Linked DNA regions of Homo sapiens: all the other regions are linked to region 3. Evidence: promoter capture Hi-C in human tissues and cell types (Jung and others, 2019). All regions are on one chromosome and are shown on one strand. Each heading gives the region's core, a stretch centred on a gene start or on the middle of the fragment in contact. The rest is flanking DNA. Distances are from core to core; before and after follow the strand shown.

Region 1 (3,376 bases), core at 522-3,021, 640 kb before region 3:
TTCAGGTGCACTAAGATAGGGAAGCTAAAAGCAGACCTGGGGGTATGCCTGCAGCTGCAGGAAGATGTATGGAAACAGACACACAACTCCCTCCCAGATAAGCACACCTAAAGAGACACAGAAGCAGTCCAAGCCTCTGATAAACTCTCCCACCCTGAATCCTTAAAAACTCTTAGTCTGTAAGAGAGCATGCCTCTGATCTAACTCAGCCAGAAGCCACTCTTGGGTTTGTTTTCTTTAAAATAAACCTGTCCTCGACCATCAAGCCATTGTGTTTCTTTCCTCTTTCTTTAATTCTTACACACTGGAGCCTAGGGAAAGGATCATTCTCTGCCCACTTCCATTACCTGAGAAAAGAACGCCAGAAAAAGAAGCCATGGGGAAAACATTAAGATTTGTAGCCAGGCATGGCAGCTGATGCCTGTAATGCCAGCACTTAGGGGGGTTGAGGTAGAGGATTGTTTGAGGCCAGGAGTTTGAGACCAGCCTGGGCAACATAGTGAGACCCTGTCTCTACAAAAAAAGTTTTTAAATAAATTATCTGGGCCTGGGGGCAAGTACCTGTAGTCCCAGCTGCTTAGGAGGCGGAGACGGGAAGATCCCTCGAGCTCAGTACAGCTCAGGCTGTAGTGAGCTATGATGGCACCACTGCATTCCAGACTGGGTGACAGAGCAAGACCCTGTCTCAAAAAAAAAAAAAAAAAGATTTGTAGACTTTTGTAGACTGTCAAGAGGGACATCAAAAATGTCTCCTGTGAGGCCGGGCATGGTAGCTTACATCTGTAATCCCAAGCACTTTGAGAAGCCACCGCGGGAGGATTACTTGAGCCCAGGAGTTCGAGATCAGCCTAGGCAAGATAGACTTTGTCTCTACAAATAAAAATAATTAGCCAGGCATGGTGGTGCAGGCCTGTGGCCCCAGCTCCTCAGGGGACTGAGGCAGGAGGATTGCTTGAGCAGTCCTCAGGCAGTGGAGGCACCAGTGACCTGTGGTAACAACACTGCACTCCAGCCTGGGCGACAGAGTGAGACCCTGTCTCAAAAGAAAATAAATAAAACAGAATGTCTCCTGTGTAAAATGACAACTTCCAGTAGAACAATTATAGGAAAGATACAGGATCTTTCTGTTCTTTCCACAGTATCTCAGATTTCAGACCGCCCAAGATTCCTCTAGCTAATGACTTCACAGTTGGTAACAGCGAGTTAACTTCACAATGTTTCTTCAGCATCTATTATGACAGTTCTTGGAACTATACGTGCCAGATTACAGTTCACACCTGGTGGTAGTGACAATGGAAATGCCTTTAGGAGGCTTGCAGATCCCTTGGACCCAGAAAATACAACTTTTTGAGACATATGGGAGAAAAAAGAGGTTTTTACATCAGCTTTCCCTGGGGTTCCACGAACACTAAATGAATCTGAAGACACACCTTCAACATTCTTTAAGAAGGAACCATGGAAGCCAACCTTGTATTGTTTAAAGAGAGAATGAAACTTGAAGCAACAGACAGGAAGAACCCTTATCTGATCTGCTCCGCAACTATTGGAAACATTGAAGGAGACAGTTTACACTACAGTGGATGGGAGTGGTGGCTTAGGCCTATAATGCTAGTGCTTTGGAAGGCAGAGTGGGGAGAATTGCTTGAGGGAGAGTTCAAGGTTGCAGGGAGCTGTGATCCAGCCTCAGCAACAGAGTGAGATCCTGTCTGTAAAAAAAGAAAAGAAAAAAAAGTTTACATTACATTTGGAGACTAGAGAGGAGCTTTTGAATATTGCTATGATTCTTCAGATAGTCTCCTAATTGGGTAGGTTGTATCGCTTGACAAATGTCTTACAACCATCAGAAAATAATGCTCCCATTACAATAAGTAGAGCGAAAGCACAATCTTCTCCTTCCCGTGTGGCTCAGCATTCAATGCAGGCGAGAAAACTCGCCCAGTAACTTGGGTCAAGAAATCAGGTTGGGATAAACCACCTGCATAACTTTCCTCCCCACGAAGGAAAGGTTTCTTAAAAATGATTCCCTGACAAAGGTCAGCATTCGTAATTAAAAGAGGCCCAAAATGAGAGAAAAAGGAAAAATTGTCTTCCTGTTTTGTGTTCTCCTCCATCTCTACTTATGTAGTTGCTAGAAAGAGACCTTGGCCTTCCACTAGATCAGGGATGACGTTGCCGAGACCATGACTGCAGCAATGTCTGCAGTCTGTTTCTTTGCAGACAAACAGGGGACTCCATACTCACCTGCTTCAGAAGAGAGCCCAGCAGCTGCCCACCTCCCGCTGGCCCCGTGGGTATGCAGCTCGGTGGACCATGCAGACCTATGTGGATTGTGCCTTCCGAGCTGTGATAGAAGAGTTAAAAATAAATTATTTAGGCAGACAGAATAAGGAAGTCCTTGGTAAGGTTTTCCTTTTAATGAAAAGCATTAAAAGGAATGCCCCAAATCATTTTCTTTTCTAACAAAGAACAACCTGTAAAATCAAGCTGCAGGCACAGACAAGCAAGCTGGAAGCTTGCATAGGCTAATACTGGTGGTTGTGCCAACAGAGAAAGGTTACCTGGGAATAGACACGTTCAAAACGGTGGCTCCATCTTCTCCTGTCTTTGCCACCCGCGTGTATAGTAAGGAGCAGACAAGATGGTACTGGCCAAGTAGAAAGCCCATTTGTTTAATAAGATTAGGGTGGGACGACCAGCCTTCCCCGAGCGCTATGTAAACGTCACACCTGATCAGACCAATCTGTGGGCCCTGTGTAAATCAGACGCCGCCTCCTCAAGCCTGCCTATCAAGTCTGCTGTGGTCCACCTCAGGCCGGCTTTTTCCCTTTTGGATGCCTCTCTCTAGAAAGAGAGAGAAAGCTGCTCTCCTCTCTCCTTTCTTCAGCCTATTAAAATTTCCGCTCCTCAACCCACTCACATGTGTCCATGTCTTTAATCTTCTTGGTGCAAGATGGTGAACCCCAGGTATTTACCTCAGACAGTGATGCTGCTTCAGCTGGACGGCTCTTGAATGCCTCCATAGAGGAGACGTGGTCGCTGCCTCCTCTGGTGGGGAAAAACATTCTACCTCCCTTCGGTGGTTAACACCTCCTCAAAATAAAAATGGTAAAAGCCAATCAGCAGAGGCAGACATACTGATGCTCTCAGAACCCTCCATCATATGCCACTCCTCTCTCACCTAAGGATCCCACAGAGGTATATGTACCACAGGCAGAAATATTGTCTTATGACGACAGACATGCCAGAAGAGCAGAGGCTTTCAGAAAGCCACCAATTCAGCAAACTAACTCTCCGAGCATGGACTGGGGAAATTCCTCAGCTCTCTTAACTATAGGAATTATTTTCAGCCTGTGTCAGCTATGCTGAGCTCATCCCC
Region 2 (3,368 bases), core at 865-3,364, 660 kb before region 3:
TCATAACTTCAGTCATGATACAGTTTTGTGGGACACATTTCGTCAAGGCAGAATGAATTGTTTGTTGCCTGGTTATTTAACATGCATTTTTACCTCAGATCAGGAAAAAGTACTAAAATTATATTATTTTCTCATTTTTTTCAGTCATGGTTCATCAGAATGTATTAAGATTCAGAACCAAAGGTTATATGAAATTGGAGGAAATATAGGTAAGCATACTGTAATAATTTCTACTGCTAAATTCTCTGATTACTCTAAAAGAAATATGTTGCTATAATCATAAAGGTATGTTTTATGAATTTCTCAGATAAAAACTAAAAATCAGTAGGTTTCTGATATTTTTATCTCATGTGGGAACAGTTGCACAGCTTTTCTAAAATGTTTTCAAAATTTAAATGAGAATATTTTAATGTTGATATGGAGTAGGCTTGGGTCTTTTCTTTTCTTTTCTTTTCTTTGCTTTTCTTTTCTTTTCTTTTCTTTTCTTTTTTTTTTGAGACAGAATCTTGCTCTGTTGCCCAGGTTGGAGTGCAGTGGAGTGATCTTGGCTCACTGCAACCTCCGCCTCCCGGGTTCAAGTGATTCTCCTGCCTCAGCCTCCCTAGTAGCTGGGATTGCAGATGCCCGCCACCACGCCCAGACAATTTTTATATTTTTAGTAGAGACGGGGTTTCACCATGTTGGCCAGGCTGGTCTCGAACTCCTGACCTCAAGTGATCCACCCGCCTCGGCCTCCCAAGGTGCTGGGATTACAGGTGTGAGCCACTGCGCCTGGCTGGCTTCGGTCTTTTCAGTGTGATTTGAAGTTGGAAAGTCTCTCTGGAGACTCTGCAAAACAAAGAGAATACTGTAAGAACTTTCAGAAGCATGACACCATTTTGATTAACTTCCCTATTTTAACTCTCCTCCCAAATTCATTCTTTCTATTTCCCTGGGGGAGCAGGGGAGGAATCAGCAAAACTTCCCCGCTTGGTCTGTGAATATCCTCACAGCCCCATGGGTGCTCCGTGCTCCCACTGAGGGCAGTGCCTCCTCTCACCAGCACCCTCCACTCTCCCACACCATCAGCCTTTCCCTCCCAACTGTAGCATTTCCATCTGCATTTTAAAAATTGGCAATTTCCCTCACCTTTATAAAATTATTTCTTCACCCCCCTTTAAGTCTACTCCCATTTCTCTGTTCCACCTTACAGCAAAAGCTTCTTGAATCAGTGTCTACGCTCCAATTTCTTCCTCCTTGTTATCTCTTGAAGCCACTCCAGGCACACTCTGCCCCTCAGCACTTCACCAGAATCACCCTCTTGTCATGGTCACCAGACAACTCGTCTGTTTTTAGAACTGCCTGAGTTGATCTTTCCCTCCTTTGAAGAACACTTTCTTCACCTGACTTCAAGGATGCCCTAAGCTTCTGACTGTCTTCCCACTTTTCCTAGCTGCGCTGCTGGAGACCCTGTGCCCCTTATTTCTTGTCCTCTCAGCCTTTCAAGGTTGGAGAACGGTAGGGTTCAGTCCTCGGAACTCTCCTGTATTTGCACTTGCCTTCCTTGGCGAGCTCAATCCATCTCACTGCTTTAAATACACCTGTATGTGGATGCCACTGAGATTTCTATCCCACGGGTCCCTTTAAACACTAAACCTGTAAATCCAATCACCTGACAGGGTTGGATCTGGGGCCTCTGCATTTGCTCTGACTTTTCCCCAGGATGCCCTCCCCCCAGACAGCCTCACTTCTCAGTCCCTGGTCTCTGCCAGGTCTTTGCGGATAAATCAGCCTCTCAGCGAGACCCTCCTTCCTCGCACCCTCCCGAACATGCCTTCCATGCTTGGTCTTTCTCTCATGTTCTTATCACCAGTGGACTTACTTGATATCATGTTTGTTTGTTAGTTGCCTTGTGCTGCTCTTAGACATGGCTGTAAACCCAGCCCCTAGAATAGTGCCTGGCGCATTATTAATATGTGGTAAGTGAATGAATCAAGCAACCTAGCACTCACACAGCTCTTGGTAGTTTTGTTTTTTTGTTTTGTTTTGTTTGCTTTGTTTTTTTTTTGAGACGGAGTCTCGCTCTGTCGCCCAGGCTGGAGTGCAGTGGCGCGATCTCGGCTCACTGCAAGCTCCGCCTCCCGGGTTCACGCCATTCTCCTGCCTCAGCCTCCGGAGTAGCTGGGATTACAGGCGCCCATCACCACGCCCGGCTAATTTTGCTAGAGATGGGGTTTCACTGAGTTTGCCAGGATGGTCCCGATCTCCTGACCTTGTGATCCGCCCACCTCGGCCTCCCAAAGTGCTGGGATTACAGGCGTGAGCCACCGCGCTCGGCCAGCTCTTGGTAGTTTTGTTTGAGACTTCAGCATACATTTCAAGCACACTGCACGTAAAGACTTTCGAATACGTTTGCCCCAGGAAATGATCTTTTAGTTGTTACCATTTTGGGATTTCCTGCCCATGGGCTTTACGTCCATAGTAAAGAAACAAAATGACCATTCCTAAAATGAACTTGACTTGAATCTTCTCTAGCTCTGGTCAAGTACCTATCTATAAAACCACTGGAGGACATGTATTAGCATATAAATGATGAGTTTATATGCTAATATACCTGAAACAAGTTCTTGCCATATTTTTCTTTTCTTTTCTTTTCTTTGAGACGGGATCTCACTCTGTCACCCAGGCTGGAGTGCAATGGTGCGATCTTGGCTCACTGCAACCTCAGCCTCCCAGGTTCAAGTGATTCTCCTGCCTCAGCCTCCCCAGTAGCTGGAATTACAGGCGCCTACCACCACACCTGGCTAATTTTTGTATTTTTAGTAGACATGGGGTTTCACCATGTTGTCCAGGCTGGTCTCAAACTCCTAACCTCAAGTGATCCACCTGCCTCAGCCTCCCAAAGTGCTGGAATTACAGGTGTGAGCCACTGCGCCCAGCCCTTGCCATAATTTTCTAATTGATGCCATGAAGCAAGGGAACAATTTGCCTGTGATGGTATGTCTGCTTTCTTCCAAAATTTCACATGAGATTTGTTTGATATACCCATACTTCACAGTCTTAAAGAAAGAAAAAAAAAAGAAAGGAGAGAGGGAGAAGAGGGAAGAAGAGTTTGTTAAGAAACCTTAACATATGTCTACTTACTTTGGCCAAGAAAACTATATTAACCTTATTTGAACCTCACAAACACACACAGACACATATGTGTGCGCACGCACACACACACAAATGTACACTAATTCTCTGATCTTTCTCTTTCTTTTAGGAGAGCATTGCTTGGATCCAGATGCTTATATATTGGATGTATATCGTATAAATCCTCAAGCAGAATGGGTGATTAAACCCCAACAAAGTTCTTAAAATATCCTCGAGAGAGCTGCTATCATGTA
Region 3 (3,050 bases), core at 234-2,733:
AGTGGCAGGACAATGTAAGCTCATATTAACAAGCAAATGATTAATATAGAGACTTCTAAAGAGCAGGTCTGGTAAGTATCTAGTAAGTGGACTTCCTGAAGTAAGAGGAGTGTTGGTTGCCACACTAAAGGCAAGTCTTCTAGTCCCCAAATTTGCCTTGGGAGGATGACAGCTGTATCTTTCTTGGTTCTGGTGTACAGTGGAGAACAGGGTCAAGATGAGTGTGGAATCCATTTATTTTTTTACGTGTTTATAAGCACTAGAAAGCAGTGAGCACTAAGCAGAGGACCCCTCTTGCGGAAAAAGTGCAGGAGAGCTCCTGGGTGCCTCTGTATCACCGGTTTGCCTTCTAGCCAGAATCATTGCTAGAACCCTGTCACTCAGTTACTTTGGTTCCTAATTTAACCTCTTCCCAAGCCTTCTATTGCGTTCAGTTAGCTAGGCCAGGAGCTTACAGCTGTCTGGTTGGTGCTGGCTCAATGTGCTTATTCCCTGGAAGATAGAAGGATCACTTACAAAAAAATTTACAATTAAAATAAAAAAATTATTTTTTGCTGAAGCATTGTAAGGTTTTTTTAATTCACTCAGACCCAAAATCGTAAAACTAAAATATTTCAAGACATTACTTGATTCACCCCCCACTTCTCTTTCTCCCCTGTTTCTCAGCACTTTGCACCAGATACAGAAACCACGGGTTATGTCCAAACCCTGGTTTTGGTGTGACCACCGCCTTCCGTGTACTGCCTGCGGCTCGCTTCGGGCCCACACGGGACACCGAGGCATGATGAGGACGCAGAACAGCAGAAGCGCGCCCTGCTTCCCGGGCGCCAGTGCTCGGGGCCAGCGGCGTGTACCCGGCGGGCCCGGCCGGGAGCGGGCTGGCGATCGCGGGGCTCGGCGCTCCCGGCTCCCGCGCCATCTCCCGGCGCCCGCCAACTTCGCTCCGCCCGCGGCGTAGAGAAGCTCGCAGCCCTCCGGAGCCTCAGCGATCTCCTGGCTCGCTTTTCCCGCAGCCGCCGAGCAGCGCAGGCCCGGCGACTCCGGGTGCAGCTGGCCCTGTGCGGTGACATCGCCGTCCGGCGCCAGGCTCGAAGCCGCCTGGCCGCGCCCGCGGGGTCGCAGGCCGCTGGTCCCGCCCGGCCGCGCTCACAAACTACTCGCGGCTCGTGACCCGGGACAAACTTCTGGCGGCGGCGCAGCCTCTTCCACAGTCACCCTCCCCAGAGCCAGCTACCAAAATAGAAGACGCGGCCGGGGCGAGGAGGTGGGCGGGGGGAGCCCGGTGGCCGCTCCTCCCCGCGCGGCTGACGCCCGCTTCGGCGGCGGTAGTGGCTGTGGCCGCGGGGCCGCCCCCAGCCGAGCTCCCGGAGGCGCTCGGGCGCGGGCCGGCGGGGCACGGGCGCTCACGCCCTCTAGCGGGCCGCGGCGGCGCCGGGCGGCCGTGACGTGAGCGCTCCCTTCAGCCGGCCTGCGGGGCACCGCCAGTCAGTCGGGGAGCAAGAGCCCCGCGCGCAGCCGGCGCGGGCTCGGTCATCGGCGCGCCGCCGCCCGGGGCTGGGCTTGGGGCTGCCTGTGGAGAGGCGGCGGGCGGAACGCGCGCGGCCACGGCCACGGCCACCGCCACGGCCACGGCCGGCAGCTCGGGTCCCGGGTCCCGGGCAGGGGAAGGGGAGAGGCGGCGAGCTCAGCAACCGGAACCGAGGGAAGATTTTGGCTCCGCGGGCTCGCCCTCCGCTCCCTCTGCCAGCGGCGCCAGACGCCGAGTGGGGCCAGGGACAGGGGAGGAGGACCCAGGACCCTGTGCCCGCGCCCCTGGAGCCGCTGGAGTTCGGACTTCTGCAACTGTTGGCACTTTGGGGGCTTGGCTTAGCGCTCTGCTGTTTACCCGTCTCTCCTCGCTGCCTCGGAACCAAAGCTCCCGGCCCCCTCCGCCCTCGCGCGCCCACCCACCGCCGCCGGGGAGCGGCCCGGCCCGCACTCAGCACCATGAGGGGACTTGGGACTTGCCTGGCGACTTTGGCCGGACTTTTGCTAACTGCGGCGGGCGAGACGTTCTCAGGTAAGCGGGACCGCCTCTGCCGCCCCCGAGGCGCGCGGGCCGGCGCGGGACGCCCGGGACGCCGACAGCTCCCTGGTGGTAGAGCCCTAAGGCTGGCGTCGGGGCCGGGCGGGGGGCGCGGCGGGCCGGACACCGCTTCTGCCTGTGAGCCGGGCGCTGGGCGAGGGGCCGTGGGGCTGGCAGGCACCCAGTCCTCGGGCGGGCGGAGCGGACGGACCCCGAGGGCGAGCTCCCCAGCCGGGACTGCCAGCTCGGCCGCCGTCCTTCCGCGGCCTGGGCTAGTGCTCAAGGTTGGGCGGCTTGCACTCTTGAGTCCCTGGCCGGCTGCAAAAGGAACAGCAGAAAACTTTGCTTGAAGTTCCCAGTTGCAGCCGCCGGGCCGCCTGGCGTAGGCGCTGCGCGGTCCCCGCCGACCCCGAGCAGCGGCCGGGCCCAGGCCGCTGGTGTTCGGCTGCGCCCGCAGCGATCGCCGGGAACTGGCGGCCGCTCCGGCGGCGGCGATCTCCCGGTGCCCTGCCCTCCCTGTCGCCCCCTGCCCGGCGCGGCTGGCGACCCCGGGAGGTCCCCGCGGTCGTGCAGCGTCTGCGGAGAGGCTGGGGGGAGTTCCTCGCCGGTCCCAGCGGTAGGGCTTGGCGGCCGCGGAGGGAAGCGGGCAGGTCCCCAGGCCCTGGCCACGGCCCTGCGCCCCGCTGGGCTCCCCCTCCCCACCCTCGTCCCCCTAGCGGAGCGCCGCGGCCAGCTGCAACTTGTTCATCCAGCCCGGCTGCCCGGGGGTCCCAGGTGGGAAGGAGAGGCACTGGCGGTGTGCGAGCAAGCGTGTGAGTGTGTGCGCGTGTGTGCCTGCACGCGCGCGCGGGGGCGTTCTAAGCCCAGAGGAACCCCTCACGGAGAGGATCTGTGGATCGGAGTCGGGGGTCCGGCGTGGGGGCGAACCCGGCACGCTGTCACAGGGGTTTACAACCAGGATGACCTTTATTACCTGGGTGACACA
Region 4 (3,031 bases), core at 522-3,021, 650 kb after region 3:
GGTAAATAAAATGAGCATCCACTGCACGCCCAGGGGTAAATTGCAGATTACCAACAACGTGACATAATGCACTAAATGTCAGTTTTGTCAAACAAATTTAGAAGAACGGTTAAACTATTAGCTTCCTGTTGTTCTAGGGCCTTTCTTGCAGCAAGCAACTATTGGGAGCAGCAGGGACACTGTGCCTTGTGGAAGACTAAGGGAGTTAAATTGAATAAGCAAGATGAATGGGGAGACAGCACCACAGAGGCACTCAATTAGTTTATAACTGTCTATTAACTTCTGTAGGTGGTTTTGAATAAACAGCAGATTATCTGTTGCACTCTTGGGGGACAAGGGGAGCCATGGGAGAGGGTCAGTGTAGCGCTCAAAGGAAAGAGATTTTTTGATTCTCAATTGCCCTCTGTCTTCTCCTTTCCTACTTTTGTGCATGAAGCATGGGTAATGGTTGTCAAAACCTTCTACATGTTTAAAACTTACACGCATACAAAGGAGCAGTGCCCGCCTTGACATTTCTCTTGGCAGTTCTTGCATGGAACACTGGTGTGATGCCCCCAAAGAATAAGTTGAATTTAGGTTCTTTGGCTACTTTTTCAGAACATGTTCTTGGGAAAAGAGTAGTAACTCTTGGTTCTTAGAACTCAGGAAGATAAAACCTCTCCATGAATGATCATAGCCAGGATTTCTTTCCAGAGAGGGCTGAGAGTGTGGAGGGAAACTGATGGAGCTCTCTGCATCATGCAGTACATCCTGGAGACTTGCAGGGCGTGGGAAGTCCCCTTGCTTCCAGTGAAGGCATTGTTTCTAGCTTCAGTGTTTATGCAAGTTCTAATCTCCTGATGCTTACCTTAGAGTACATTTAGGAACCAGTGCTCTGTTAATGGAAAAACTAAATTCTAAAAGATTTTTAAGAGGCTTATTCTGGCCAAGCCCGGTGGCTTACGCCTGTAATCCCAGCACTTTGGGAGGCCGAGACGGGTGGATCATGAGGTCAGGCGATCGAGACCATCCTGGCTAACATGGTGAAACCCCGTCTCTACTTAAAATACAAAAAATTAGCCGGGCGTGGTGGAGGACGCCTGTAGTCCCAGCTACTCGGGAGGCTGAGGCAGGAGAATGGCGTGAACCCAGGAGGCAGAGGTTGCAGTGAGCCGAGATCAGGCCACTGCACTCCAGCCTGGGTGACAGAGCAAGAGTCCATCTCAAAAAAAAAAAAACTTATTCTGAGTCAATATGAGTAACCGTGGCCCAAGGAAAAACAGTCTTAAGAGATCCTGACAAAGTCAAGAGAGTCAGATTACAGTTTTCTACATTTTGGAGAGGAAGGAGTTACAGGCAAAGACATAAATCAATACATGGAAGATATTGATTAGTTTAGCCCATAAAGGTGGGATATCTTGAGGTGGAGGCTTACAAGTCAATAGATGGATTCAGAGATTCTTTAATTTGCAATTGGTTAAAGGAACAAAACTTGGTCTAAAAACTTGGAGTTAGCAGAAAGGAATGTTTTAAGTTAAGATAAGCATGCTATGTCAGAGTCAGCCACAATATGACCTGCTTAACAAAAGCAGTGGCTTGCAGGCATGACTTAACCCTTGCCTTAGGTATTGTTTATAATTTGATATATCATTACCACAAAGAGTATGTTTAGTCAATCTTATGATCTCTATTTTAACATTAATGCTGGTCAATTATTGTGCCTAAACTCCAAAAGGGGGCGCTATAACGAGGTGTGTCTGACCTCCCCATCACATCCAGGAACTCAGGAAAATTTTTAAGATTTTTCTGAGTTCCTCTTGGCTACAAGTCAGTGGGGAGCTTAGGATTTTCTTTTACCGCATGGTACAATCACTAGATCATTATAAAGAATTGCAAATTTTAATGAAATTGCTGAAGAAACATGGTGAGAATTAAAGGGGAAGGAGATAAAAGATTAGAGATGAAGGAAAAAACAAGACCAAGAAGATGTGGAAACTATGAGTGATGACTTCCGAACTTTAAAGTATTTTTAGTGCTTCTGAATTTATGTCCTTCAAACTGTGTACCAACTTGCTTTTTTGAGCATGCAGACATTACATAATGCAAGCCATTTATCAGAGTTCTTTTACATAGCACAGAACAGTCATAAGATACTCTTACTTTTCAACACACATACACACACATATATCCCACAAAGGGATTCATTTTTCTTTTGCTATTTTGAAAAGGCTGAGAAATGTATGCCTCCACCAGCAGGATTGGGGCATTCTTTATGTGAACCTGTCCCACTTAAAACCAGTTGTCAAGGAGAGAATCAAGATAAAACACAGTGTGTGGTGGGTGGATCCACTAAGTGAGGAAAGCTTATTAGGAAAGAGTTAGGAAAGCTGTAGTTCCTCCTGAATAAGACTCCTTTGAGAAAAAGAGCCAAGACTTAATCTAACTCTTGGGTATCTGTTTTGACACCTGTGTCTGTAATTGCTGGTTTGCTTTGTAATAGGGGTGTTTTCTTTGGTCATCCATTGAATTACCTTTAATTCAATTACCATTGAATTACATTGAATCGATGCTCTTAATACCTAAGTTTTCTTTGAGCTAAATGTAAGCATTTATGTGCTGATGGATGTTATTAAACCCTACATCTCCTTTATAATCATTCATGAGATCCATCAGCATGAGGGCAGTTTCTTCATCAACAGACTGTACAAAACCCTTATGAGGTAAGATCTCAGTGAACAAAATGAGAATAATCAGATGAAATAATAGTCAAGTGATTGCCCTTGAAAAATAGAGGCACTTGATACAACTTAGACTTGAAGTCTCTTTTTTTTTCTGTTTTTCCTCCCACTAAACTATTGCAGATTTGACAGGGTGTTTATTTTGCAAATATGATTGGAGGGATTTGTCAAGGAAGACTAGGATAGCAATGGTCATGAAGAAAAGCATTATCCAAATTATAACCCAAAGTTTACTCACCCATTTCCCTGTGTTCCCTGGCACTTTGTGGAGCCTGTATTGTTGTCGCTGTGGGGGTTGGTTTCACATGCCGTCT
Region 5 (3,322 bases), core at 238-2,737, 610 kb after region 3:
AGAGAGAGAGTACAGTTAGACATAATATCGAAGTTATTTTTGGAAACAAGCTAACAAAGAAGGCTGTGTAATCTCTATCTACTGCAATCTCAAAAAATAGGCCGAATAGCCATCTATTGCCAGTGATTTCAGAGGGATGTGCCTGAAGGCAGGGAGTTGGATCTGGTGACTTCTTAAGTCCTTTCCACATCTCTCATTCCCTTAATTATTCATCAAATATAAACACAGACAATGTGATTTTCTTTATTCACAATGTCCCTGTGTGAAAAAATATATGTATACATATGTAGGATTCAGTACTCCTTTTATAGAACATTGCTGTCAACTATTAAGCTTAACCCAAAAGAAAGTTCTCTGTTAATAAGAGAACCAAAGTGCACATCATCCCCAACAGGATGGCAATTTATGATGTATTTTGATCGTCCACATGACTTGCAGGAGAGTCTGGAAGAAAGGTCATGGGAAGATTAACTGCAGGCGCACCCGGTTGGTACTGAAGCAGGATTTTGCTCTGATTAGCAAAGCACTGAAGGCCAGTCAGGGAAAAAGATCAAGGTCAGTGACCTTCCAGAAGGGAAGTCAACCTCGGCAATAATAAAGGCTGCCACTCTGTCAGGACTCCAGTCTCATGCAGAGTTGGTGACTAATATCCTTCACTCTAGCTTGAAAGCCCTGTTGACAGTTTAGTTCTAATTATTTGTGGATCAGATTGAGCAGAAATACATCTGCTTCTTTTCTATCTTGTCTTTTGACCCTCCTTTTTTCTGCCCTTTTAAAAAATGTGCACTGATTTCTCAATTATGTTTTTACTTTTTTCATATTTCTTCTGTCAACCCCATTTTCTCCTGCCTTTCTGAGGGGATGTGTTTTCTTATTACTTGTTCAAATACTGATGCCTTTTGGAAAAAGCTAAATGACTTAAGTATTTTTTAACCTTTATAAAAGTATGAGAAGCATATTCTTAGAATCACAGTGTACACTTTCTCAGCCAACCATTCAACCAATAAAGTAAGTAGTTTCTTTAGTAATTCTTTGCAGTTTCCACACCTCTTTGTTTATTCATTCAACACATTTTTTGAGAACCTACTGTTAAAATAAAAACTTTAGACAAATTAAATTTAGCAGAGTTTAATTGAGCAAAGAATGATTCACAAATCTGGCAGCCCTCAGAACCAGAAGAGGTTCACAGAGTTCCCCTTCACAATGCGAGACAGAAGGCAGGTACAGAAAGGCTGGGCTGGTTACAGCAGTGTTTCCCTTATTTGAAAGTGATCTGATTAGTTGGTTCCTGTGATTGACGGAAGCTCAGCTGCTGTGATTGGCTAAGGCTTGTTATACTTGTTACAAAAGTATACTCCTCTTAGCAGCAGCAAATCAGTAAGTGTTGGGAGCAACCTCAATTCTTGCCTCCTCAGAAGAAAGAATTCAACCCAGGGGCATAAGGCTGAGTGAGAGAATGAGGCAAGTTTTAGAGCAGGAATGAAAGTTTATTGAAAAGCTTTGGAGCAGGGAGGAAAGTAAATAGAGTACATTTGGAAAAGGGCCAAGTAGGCAACTTGAGAGGGTCAAGTGCACGGTTTGACCTTAGATCTGGGGTTGTACATATTGGCATGCTTCCAGGGTCTTGTGTCTCTTCTCCCCTGATTCTTCCCTTGGGATGAGCTGTTTGTATGCACAGTGGCCTACCAGCACTGGGGAGGGGCTGTATTCACAGTGTGTTTACTGGAGTTGTGCACATGCTCACTTAAGACATTTTTCCCTTAGCAGTTGAACAATTCTAGAAGGTCATATACCAGTTAAACTCTGCCACTTTGCCTCTTAGTGTGCATGCTTGAGCCCACTTGCCCCACTCCTGAGATCTTATTGGGAAGCTGCTGATCACCAGTTTCAGATGTTGGGTGCATGGAGTTGCTAGCCGATTCTAGTATGTGCCTAGAATTAGAATATTAATCCAAATTTTTACATTACCCACCCTCTCGTTTCTTCTGAGCTATAGCCAGAGATCATTGGTTTGTTCACAGGAATAAGCAAGGTTAGTCTAAATTGCAGACAAAAACTCAAAAAGAACTGATGAGACTAGAATCTTTTAACAGGTTTGCCGTCATTCTTGAAACACAATTTTTCTCCCTCCAATCTCCATTTTCATTAAAAACAAATCATGATAGGACTGATTTGTTTGCAAAATAAGCTTTAGTCTTGTTATACTTGGCCTGATTATTTGCATAAATCACAGCAAGAATAATTATTTGCCACATAGGCTCCTTTTAAAATTGGCTTTGATGGGCTGGGCACGGTGGCTCATGCCTGTAGTCTCAGCACTTTGGGAGGCCGAGGCAGGTGGATGAACTGAGGTCAGGAGTTTGAGACCAGCCTGGCCAACATGGTGAAACCTCGTCTCTACTAAAAATACAAAAAAAACTAGCTGGGCATGGTGGTATGTGCCTGTAATCCCAGCTACTCGGGAAGCTAAGACAGGAGAATCACTAGAACCTGGGAGGTGGAGGTTGCAGTGAGCCAAGATCGCATCACTGCCCTCCAGCCTGGGCAACAGATCAAGACTCCGTCTCAAAAATAATAATAATAATAAAATAAAAAATAAATTTGGCTTTGATGGAACTTTGTTCCATTAGGATCTCAGATAAAATGTTTTAAAGCCATAAGCCTAGCTGTGGGTTTGTACCATCAAATACCTGTATGAGTTGGGTACATTCCTCACCTCTTAAGGTCCCAAGATAACTTGGTGCTCCTAGGCCTGTGAGAAAGTGATATTCTTTACTTACCACAGGTCAGGAACACTGTACAGGGACTGCATACAGAAGGTATGAGGCCAGCTTTCCCAAGGGACTTTTATTATCTCTATAAGTCAGATTTGATTCCTTAAAGGAAAGCATGCCATTCCATTCAAAGCCTTGGTAAAACAACCAGTTTCTCCAATTGTGTCCTGCTGCGAAAGAAGTCAGATTATTACTGCACTTATGCAAATAATGTAAGTTAACTTTTTCTTGCCACAAGTTAAGAATACACAAAAATAGTTTCCAAATTCTGGAGAAATCAGGTACAGAGAAACAAATATGCTCCAAATTTTGTTTGTAGGAATATACTTTACTCAATTGTTAAAAGCTCTAAATGGAAGGATTATTTCAGTCTTCTATTAGTTCAGTCCATACATTTAACTCCTGTTCTACTTGATATTCATGACACACCATTCTTGGACTTTCTGACTTGTCCTAAATATCCCTCTTTTTTTTTTTTCTTTTCTTTTTTTTTTTTAGATGGCGCCTTGCTCTGTCACCAGACTGGAGTGTAGTGGTGCAATCTCAGC
Region 6 (2,933 bases), core at 275-2,774, 890 kb after region 3:
GTGAATGATGAAGAGAAGTCTCTGGGCATGGTTAATATACTTCTTGGATATGAAGGTGAAATATACAATATTCCATTTTAGCTTTTGAGAACTTTTGTGGAGTATGAGTATGTGTGTGTAAGGAGAAGAGAGGAGGTAAATTTTGCTTAGTTTTGCCAGGCTCATGAAAATAAGTTACCCAAAGTACCTGTTGGAACTTGGCTTAATTGGAAAGTGAGTCACAAATAGGCATTTCCCAGGGACACAGGCCCAGAAGGCTGACTGCTCAGTCCTAGGTGAGCTCCGTGAATGGTGCTCTAAACTCCTCATGGCGCTGAGGCATGAGAACGAGGACATCTCATACACTTGTCTTTCCTTTATTACATCACTAACCGTGTTCCTCCTGGAGATTACCATATCTGAGAAAACCTGAAACCTTTTTGATCGCATGATAGATGTAATCAGTGAATGTTCCTACATGGAGAAGCTGGCTTTGGAAATCTACTGGCTCACTGTGGTAAAGACTGATTCAGGGGCTGCACTGACCCTGCAGCTCAGTGGTGGGATTGTTGGTGGGGTTTTGCTTAGTTTGTTTTTTTGAAATAGAAAGGAATAAAAATATTCCATTAGTCATTTGTAACTTGGGAAGGGTATATAAAATAAAAAAAAAAGATTAAATGAATTTCATATTTATATGATGACCAGTTAAGAGTGACAGAGAAGTCTTGAGGCCATGGGAGGTAGAAATAAAGAGAGAAGGGTGAGGAGGAAGCATGAGCCTAGCCACAGGGGGGCCTCAGATGTAGACTGAGAAGGATGGAGACAGACATATACATATGAGACTGTCAGAATTTATTGTTTAGAAAAGCAAACAAAAACTGGTTCAATCTAAGCCTAATGCTCAAAAGCACAGCAGTGTGAGAATCTTCTCTCTCCATCTTTGGAAGGGAGCAGTGATTGGAACTGGGTGTGTGGGGAGCTGCAGCATCCCTGATGTGTGGGGAGCTGCAGTATCCCTGGTAAAGCCCTTCCTGAGGCCCTGTCTTGTTGCAACACTTGTAAAATGCTGCCCTCTCTAGGAGCCCTCCACCGTCTGGAATCAAGTGAGGGGCTATGTCAGCTGCAGGGTGGTTGGTTCCAGAATGTGTAAGGCACTGAATTTTGAACAAATGAGCAAAAGACCGTTTTTAATGGCTGTTAATAAAAAGTTACCATGCTTAGATGTTAACACAGGACTACTGTCAAAAGACAACTTACAAAAAATTTAAACATCTTACTTGACTTTTATGTGTGATTCTAGAATTGGGAAACACCTTGTTCTATAAGATAGAAAGTGTTCCAAAGAGCTGAGCAGAGGAGCTTGGTTTTCTAGACAGGGCTGAGGAAAGCAGAAACAGGGAACAGACAGCAGATTGGCTATTTCAAACTTACTTTTCTTGTGAAGGTTCAAGCAGAGGGGACTTCCTTATGCCACTAGAACTGGCCTGTTTGGGGATTTGACTATCACCTCTCTCTGTAACTTCTTGGCATGCTGAAGATCTTAGTTTCCACTTGGTGGTGTTGAATTGGCAGGAGTGACTCCATTTTGTCTGGTCCGCTGGGCCTGGTGCGGGAGCTTAGTCCAAACCAATGACCTTCCATAAATTGTATCTAACATGACTAACTACGACGTAAGGAAAATTGTCTAGGTAGAGGAAGATCTTTTCTTCTTTTAGGTGGCCTCTGTGTTGTTTTAAGAATGGATCCAGAGGCCCCAGGCTCTGTACACAAATTAAGAAGCCACACATTTCCAACCTCTCCTAGAACTCAAATGAAGACATTTCAGCATGGATTCCCTGAAAAGAAGGACTAGACACCTCATCTTGGTAGTTCATTTCTGCACACAGTATTTCTAGATCCTGGAAAAGCATTTCCAGCATCAGGGTTTGGGGATGGGATCTGAGGGTCACCTGGAAGACAGGAGTCCCCTGTGTTCCCAAGGGTGATGTCCCTCTAGTCCTGCCTGTCGGCCAGCCCAAGTGGCCAACCCACTCCCCCATGTTTAACATGGAACCTGCCTTTCTCTTTTCACAATGCCCCCTCCCCTACTGAGGTCCAGAATGTTCTCATTGAGCGATCTGTTCCTTTACTATAGGACTTGAGCCGTCAGTGACTGGTGACAAAAAACTCTGAGGATGGGCTTTGTGAGGGAGCCGGAGGCCAGGCGGGAGGCCCCCACATGGCAAGTCTACTCTTCCCATTTCACCTGCTTCCCCTCTCTCGGGCGACTTTGCACTTTGGCCCTGCCCTCACCACAGAAGGGACAGCTGGTCTGTGTTTCCACTAGGACCACAAGCAATCAGAATAGCTTGCCTCCTGGGTCAGTCCGCTGGTCTCTCTTCCTGCCACTGAGACTCTAAGACCCGCCCACTGTAGTATAAAAAGGACACAGAGCTGCAGAGTTGGAAATGGCTAATCAACTGGGTGCGGTGGCTCACACCTGTAATCCCAGCACCTTGGGAGACTGAGACCGGAGGATGGCTTGAGTCCAGGAGTTTGAGACCAGCCTGGGTCTCAAATAGTGAGACCCTATCGCTACAAAAATATTAAAAATTAGCCGAGCATGGTAGCTCACATCTGTAGTCCCAGCTACTCAGGAGCTTGAGGTGGGAGGATCACTGGAACCCAGGAAGTCTAGGCTGCAGTGAGCCATGATTGTACCACTGATTCCAGCCTGGGCGACAGAGCAAGACTGTCTCAAAAATAAATAAATAAATAAATAAATAGAAATGGCTGATCAGAAGCAGTGGCTCTATATGCTTGAGTGAGCCAGATGGGACAGGGAGTGGGTGAGACGAGGCAGTGAGCAGCCCAGGAGCCCCGAGGGTGACCCAGGAAGAAGGAAGAGCAGGGAAGGTGGCCCTAGAGAGCTTTTGCAGTTCCTGCCAGAGACACAGCTGCAAGGCTGGATTTCG
Region 7 (2,873 bases), core at 29-2,528, 680 kb after region 3:
TTACTCCTGCTGAACGTTGCAGGGAACCCAGCGACATGACATTTTTTAACCTTCTGCTCTGTAGGGGTTGACAAAACTTGATGGGAACTAATCTGGGTTCATTTGGGATTTGGGACAGGGTCATAGCCTTTTGAGAATTCAGTACCTTCCCCTTGATCCTCCTACAGCCTGAGCTCTCTGAGCTTTGTAGGTTCTGTGTCAGGTTCTGCTCCCTGTATGAACATACTCCAATTATACGTTCTTGACTCCTCACCTAGTTCTGTTCTTTAGTTTTAACAATGTGCCTTTTAGATTCATCTGTTATTTCATTTTTGCTTGGAAAATATTTACTCAAGGGAGTCTTCTCTTTGACACTGTATATGGTGATGTTGACAATAATTTCGTAAAAACTTAGTAACTCTAGGAGTGTAACAATTAGATTATGATTGTGTTGTACTAGAATCATTGGTCATTTTAATCTAGCTTATAATAGGAGAAACAGTGTTTTAGGCTGTGGTGTTTTATCTTTCTGGTTGTTTGGGGTTTTTTATTTTGTTTTGTTTTTTGAGGATAGACAGTACCTGTTTTTCATCTCTGTGTCTGCAGCCTGGCAGAGTGCTTGCCACAAATAAGGCACTATACATCCATCTCTGAATGAATAGGATTAATTCAGTAGATGTTATTCCTGAACATCTGTCAATATACATGCCAAAGCTCTGTATCCCGTTCAAATGCATGCCTACATAATTGAATTCTTTATCCTAAGGAAACTGGCCAAGAAGCGGAAAGAGACCATGAGCAGCACCCGACAGGAGATGACTGTGATGGTGAACTCAATGGACAAGAGCTATGCTGAGCAGGGCACAAACTGCGACGAGGCTTTCTCATTCATGGACACGCACAATCTGAATGGGAGATGTAAGTGCATATGTTTCTTGGCTTCTAACACATCTCCTTGGTTTTGCAAGATTCCAGGTGGTACTAGGGGATTTCAAAAAAAAAAAAAGCTTCCTGAAGAAATTTTTATGCCGTGTTGGTTTCTTCAGTCATTTTCAGTGATCCTTTGTGCCACAGGTTGCTTAGCAGAGATGTTCTAAAGGTGATAGGACCAGATCAGAGAGTCCAGAAAACCACAGTGCAGTTTCTGTAAAGATTTAGAGAGCAGTGACACGAGGCTTTCCTTCTTTTGAGGAAGAAGGCACCTGCTTCTCATCATCCTTCTTGTTGTTTAGATCCCATTTGTAAACTATCCAGGTGTGGAATTACACATGGGAAGCCTGTTATAAAAACAGTTCACTAAATGGCAGTAACAAGTTAATTGTTTATTTGTTTAGATGACAGGTTCTGCCTTTATTATAGGGCTGTCAGTGTCAATTAATAAATTAAACTCTATTTCAGCTTCACAAGTCTTATGCTTCATACCAGGTGTGTAAACCAACCTCAGCTACTGCCTTCCCATACTACTACCTGTGATCCAGGTAGAAGGCATTATTTTAGGAAACTAACAATTAGATTGATTATATCAAGCACAAAAGGAGTAGTTGCTTTGTCCCTGGTAATCTCGGAGACCAGAGGGAGATACCTCACTCTGTGGTTTAGGGCACACTTTGGTGAGTTCAAGGTCGGGGGTTTCTTTACTGTGTGAAATCTGTGCCTCAGGCCTGAGCTGCATAACCAGGATTCTGGTCAGCATGGGGATGGAATTAAAGTGCAGCTATTCCTGTTACAAAAAAATAATCGTAGTATTTTAAAGGCCGGTGGGCCTTGTGGCTGTGAGGAGCACAGAAATGGCATCTGGCGTGGGGCGACTGGGAGCAGTTTGGACGGTGTGGGCTCATGTCCTAATACCCACTGTGGTCAGTGTGGTACTGCAGCTCCCCTCCACTCCTCCTCTTCCAGATCACAGTGTGGTCAATGCACGTGCCTGTCCCTGAGCTTTGCGTTTCTCGTACACGCGGCTGAGCTCCGAATTCAGTCTTACATTTTTCTGCTTGTAGCGGCTGCAGTTGTCCCACTTCATCCTCCTCCATCAGTTTGTACTACACACACACATGGCCCAGTGGAGCATGCACAGGTGCTGCTTTGGCACCAATGGGCAGGGCAGCACTGTTGCTTTCATCCTTGATCTTCTTTCTTTACCCTTTCCTGTCATTTTCAGTGCAGGAAATAGAAGCTATGGGGTCTCAGTGTACCCAAGCTCCTTCCCATTTTTTCATAGAGTTCTCTCTGCTTTTTTTGTGGCAGATATAATGTTTTTCATTTAAAAATATGTATGTATAATTTATTTAACTGCCATAAGAAAGCAACCTATGATGCATTCGTTGTGGGCTGGAATTGGAGAAGCCCTTTTGGCCACACACAGGATTAGAATTTTTGTAGTAGCAGGTATTCCTTGAAGGGGACCACACAGATACATCTTCATTTTGCAGTATAACCCATTAACGTTCCAAATCTTCTATTTCATGGTGAAATTCCTCAAGAATCAATTTACTTAGAATCACTCATCCCAAAAGCAAGAATCTTCTTTAGTAGTTCTAGGTGTTTGAAGTTTGAACAACAAGAATATTCACTTCTGGACAGGAAGTTTAATTTGGCAGTTACTTTTTTGAAAGTGAATGTATCTGTGGAAATCCAAAAATGTTCATGTACAAACGGCAGCTGCAGAGGCCAACGGAGCTTCCACAACTGATCGGCTATTAGACGTTATTTTTTGCCTTCCTTCAATAAAGCCAACAGAAGGAACACAGCAGTAGACTTTCCATTTTCCTCCCACTCTGAGCAATGAGTTCTCATCAGATCTCATCTGATAGGAGCGACCCTAGAGGTAGATATCATAATACTGTCTTGATGTCTTTGAAATAAGACAGCAGTTTCTGGGGAGGAAACCTTCAGGA

Evidence for each region. The method cuts DNA at HindIII sites, captures the fragments that hold promoters and counts their contacts. A contact is called where the count stands out against the background at its distance.
Region 1: a fragment that was not itself captured here is called in contact with the fragment with the promoter of PTPRM in region 3 in 1 of the 25 tissues and cell types used here (mesenchymal stem cells).
Region 2: a fragment that was not itself captured here is called in contact with the fragment with the promoter of PTPRM in region 3 in 1 of the 25 tissues and cell types used here (lymphoblastoid cells).
Region 4: a fragment that was not itself captured here is called in contact with the fragment with the promoter of PTPRM in region 3 in 1 of the 25 tissues and cell types used here (lymphoblastoid cells).
Region 5: a fragment that was not itself captured here is called in contact with the fragment with the promoter of PTPRM in region 3 in 2 of the 25 tissues and cell types used here (heart left ventricle and mesenchymal stem cells).
Region 6: a contact is called between a fragment that was not itself captured here and the fragment with the promoter of PTPRM in region 3, in 1 of the 25 tissues and cell types used here (dorsolateral prefrontal cortex).
Region 7: a fragment that was not itself captured here is called in contact with the fragment with the promoter of PTPRM in region 3 in 2 of the 25 tissues and cell types used here (lymphoblastoid cells and mesenchymal stem cells).

The regions. Positions count from the first base shown.
Region 1 is chr18:6,925,879-6,929,254 of GRCh38, forward strand. LINC00668 (long intergenic non-protein coding RNA 668) reads right to left here. Exons shown (of 7, transcript NR_034100.1): 2 at 2,973-3,090; 3 at 2,242-2,341; 4 at 779-1,706; 5 at 562-680; 6 at 194-347. It also overlaps the pseudogene SCML2P1. Among named protein-coding and RNA genes, the nearest start is that of LINC00668, 2.3 kb to the right of the region's middle. The HindIII fragment of the contact is 4,461 bases long and covers 1-3,376 here.
Region 2 is chr18:6,908,816-6,912,183 of GRCh38, forward strand. It overlaps ARHGAP28 (Rho GTPase activating protein 28), which reads left to right. Exons shown (of 18, transcript NM_001366230.1): 17 at 145-209; 18 at 3,245-3,368. The coding sequence ends at 3,339. Among named protein-coding and RNA genes, the nearest start is that of LINC00668, 19 kb to the right of the region's middle. The HindIII fragment of the contact is 3,345 bases long and covers 443-3,368 here.
Region 3 is chr18:7,565,833-7,568,882 of GRCh38, forward strand. It overlaps PTPRM (protein tyrosine phosphatase receptor type M), which reads left to right and starts at 1,484. Exons shown (of 33, transcript NM_001105244.2): 1 at 1,484-2,059. The coding sequence starts at 1,987. RefSeq lists a silencer at 1,165-1,534. The HindIII fragment of the contact is 7,623 bases long and covers 1-3,050 here.
Region 4 is chr18:8,218,263-8,221,293 of GRCh38, forward strand. The region is part of intron 14 of PTPRM (protein tyrosine phosphatase receptor type M); the gene reads left to right. Among named protein-coding and RNA genes, the nearest start is that of RAB12, 390 kb to the right of the region's middle. The HindIII fragment of the contact is 4,468 bases long and covers 1-3,031 here.
Region 5 is chr18:8,176,220-8,179,541 of GRCh38, forward strand. The region is part of intron 14 of PTPRM (protein tyrosine phosphatase receptor type M); the gene reads left to right. Among named protein-coding and RNA genes, the nearest start is that of RAB12, 430 kb to the right of the region's middle. The HindIII fragment of the contact is 3,418 bases long and covers 1-3,196 here.
Region 6 is chr18:8,460,716-8,463,648 of GRCh38, forward strand. No RefSeq gene overlaps it. Among named protein-coding and RNA genes, the nearest start is that of RAB12, 150 kb to the right of the region's middle. The HindIII fragment of the contact is 5,330 bases long and covers 1-2,933 here.
Region 7 is chr18:8,243,313-8,246,185 of GRCh38, forward strand. PTPRM (protein tyrosine phosphatase receptor type M) reads left to right here. Exons shown (of 33, transcript NM_001105244.2): 15 at 746-897. Among named protein-coding and RNA genes, the nearest start is that of RAB12, 360 kb to the right of the region's middle. The HindIII fragment of the contact is 4,817 bases long and covers 1-2,873 here.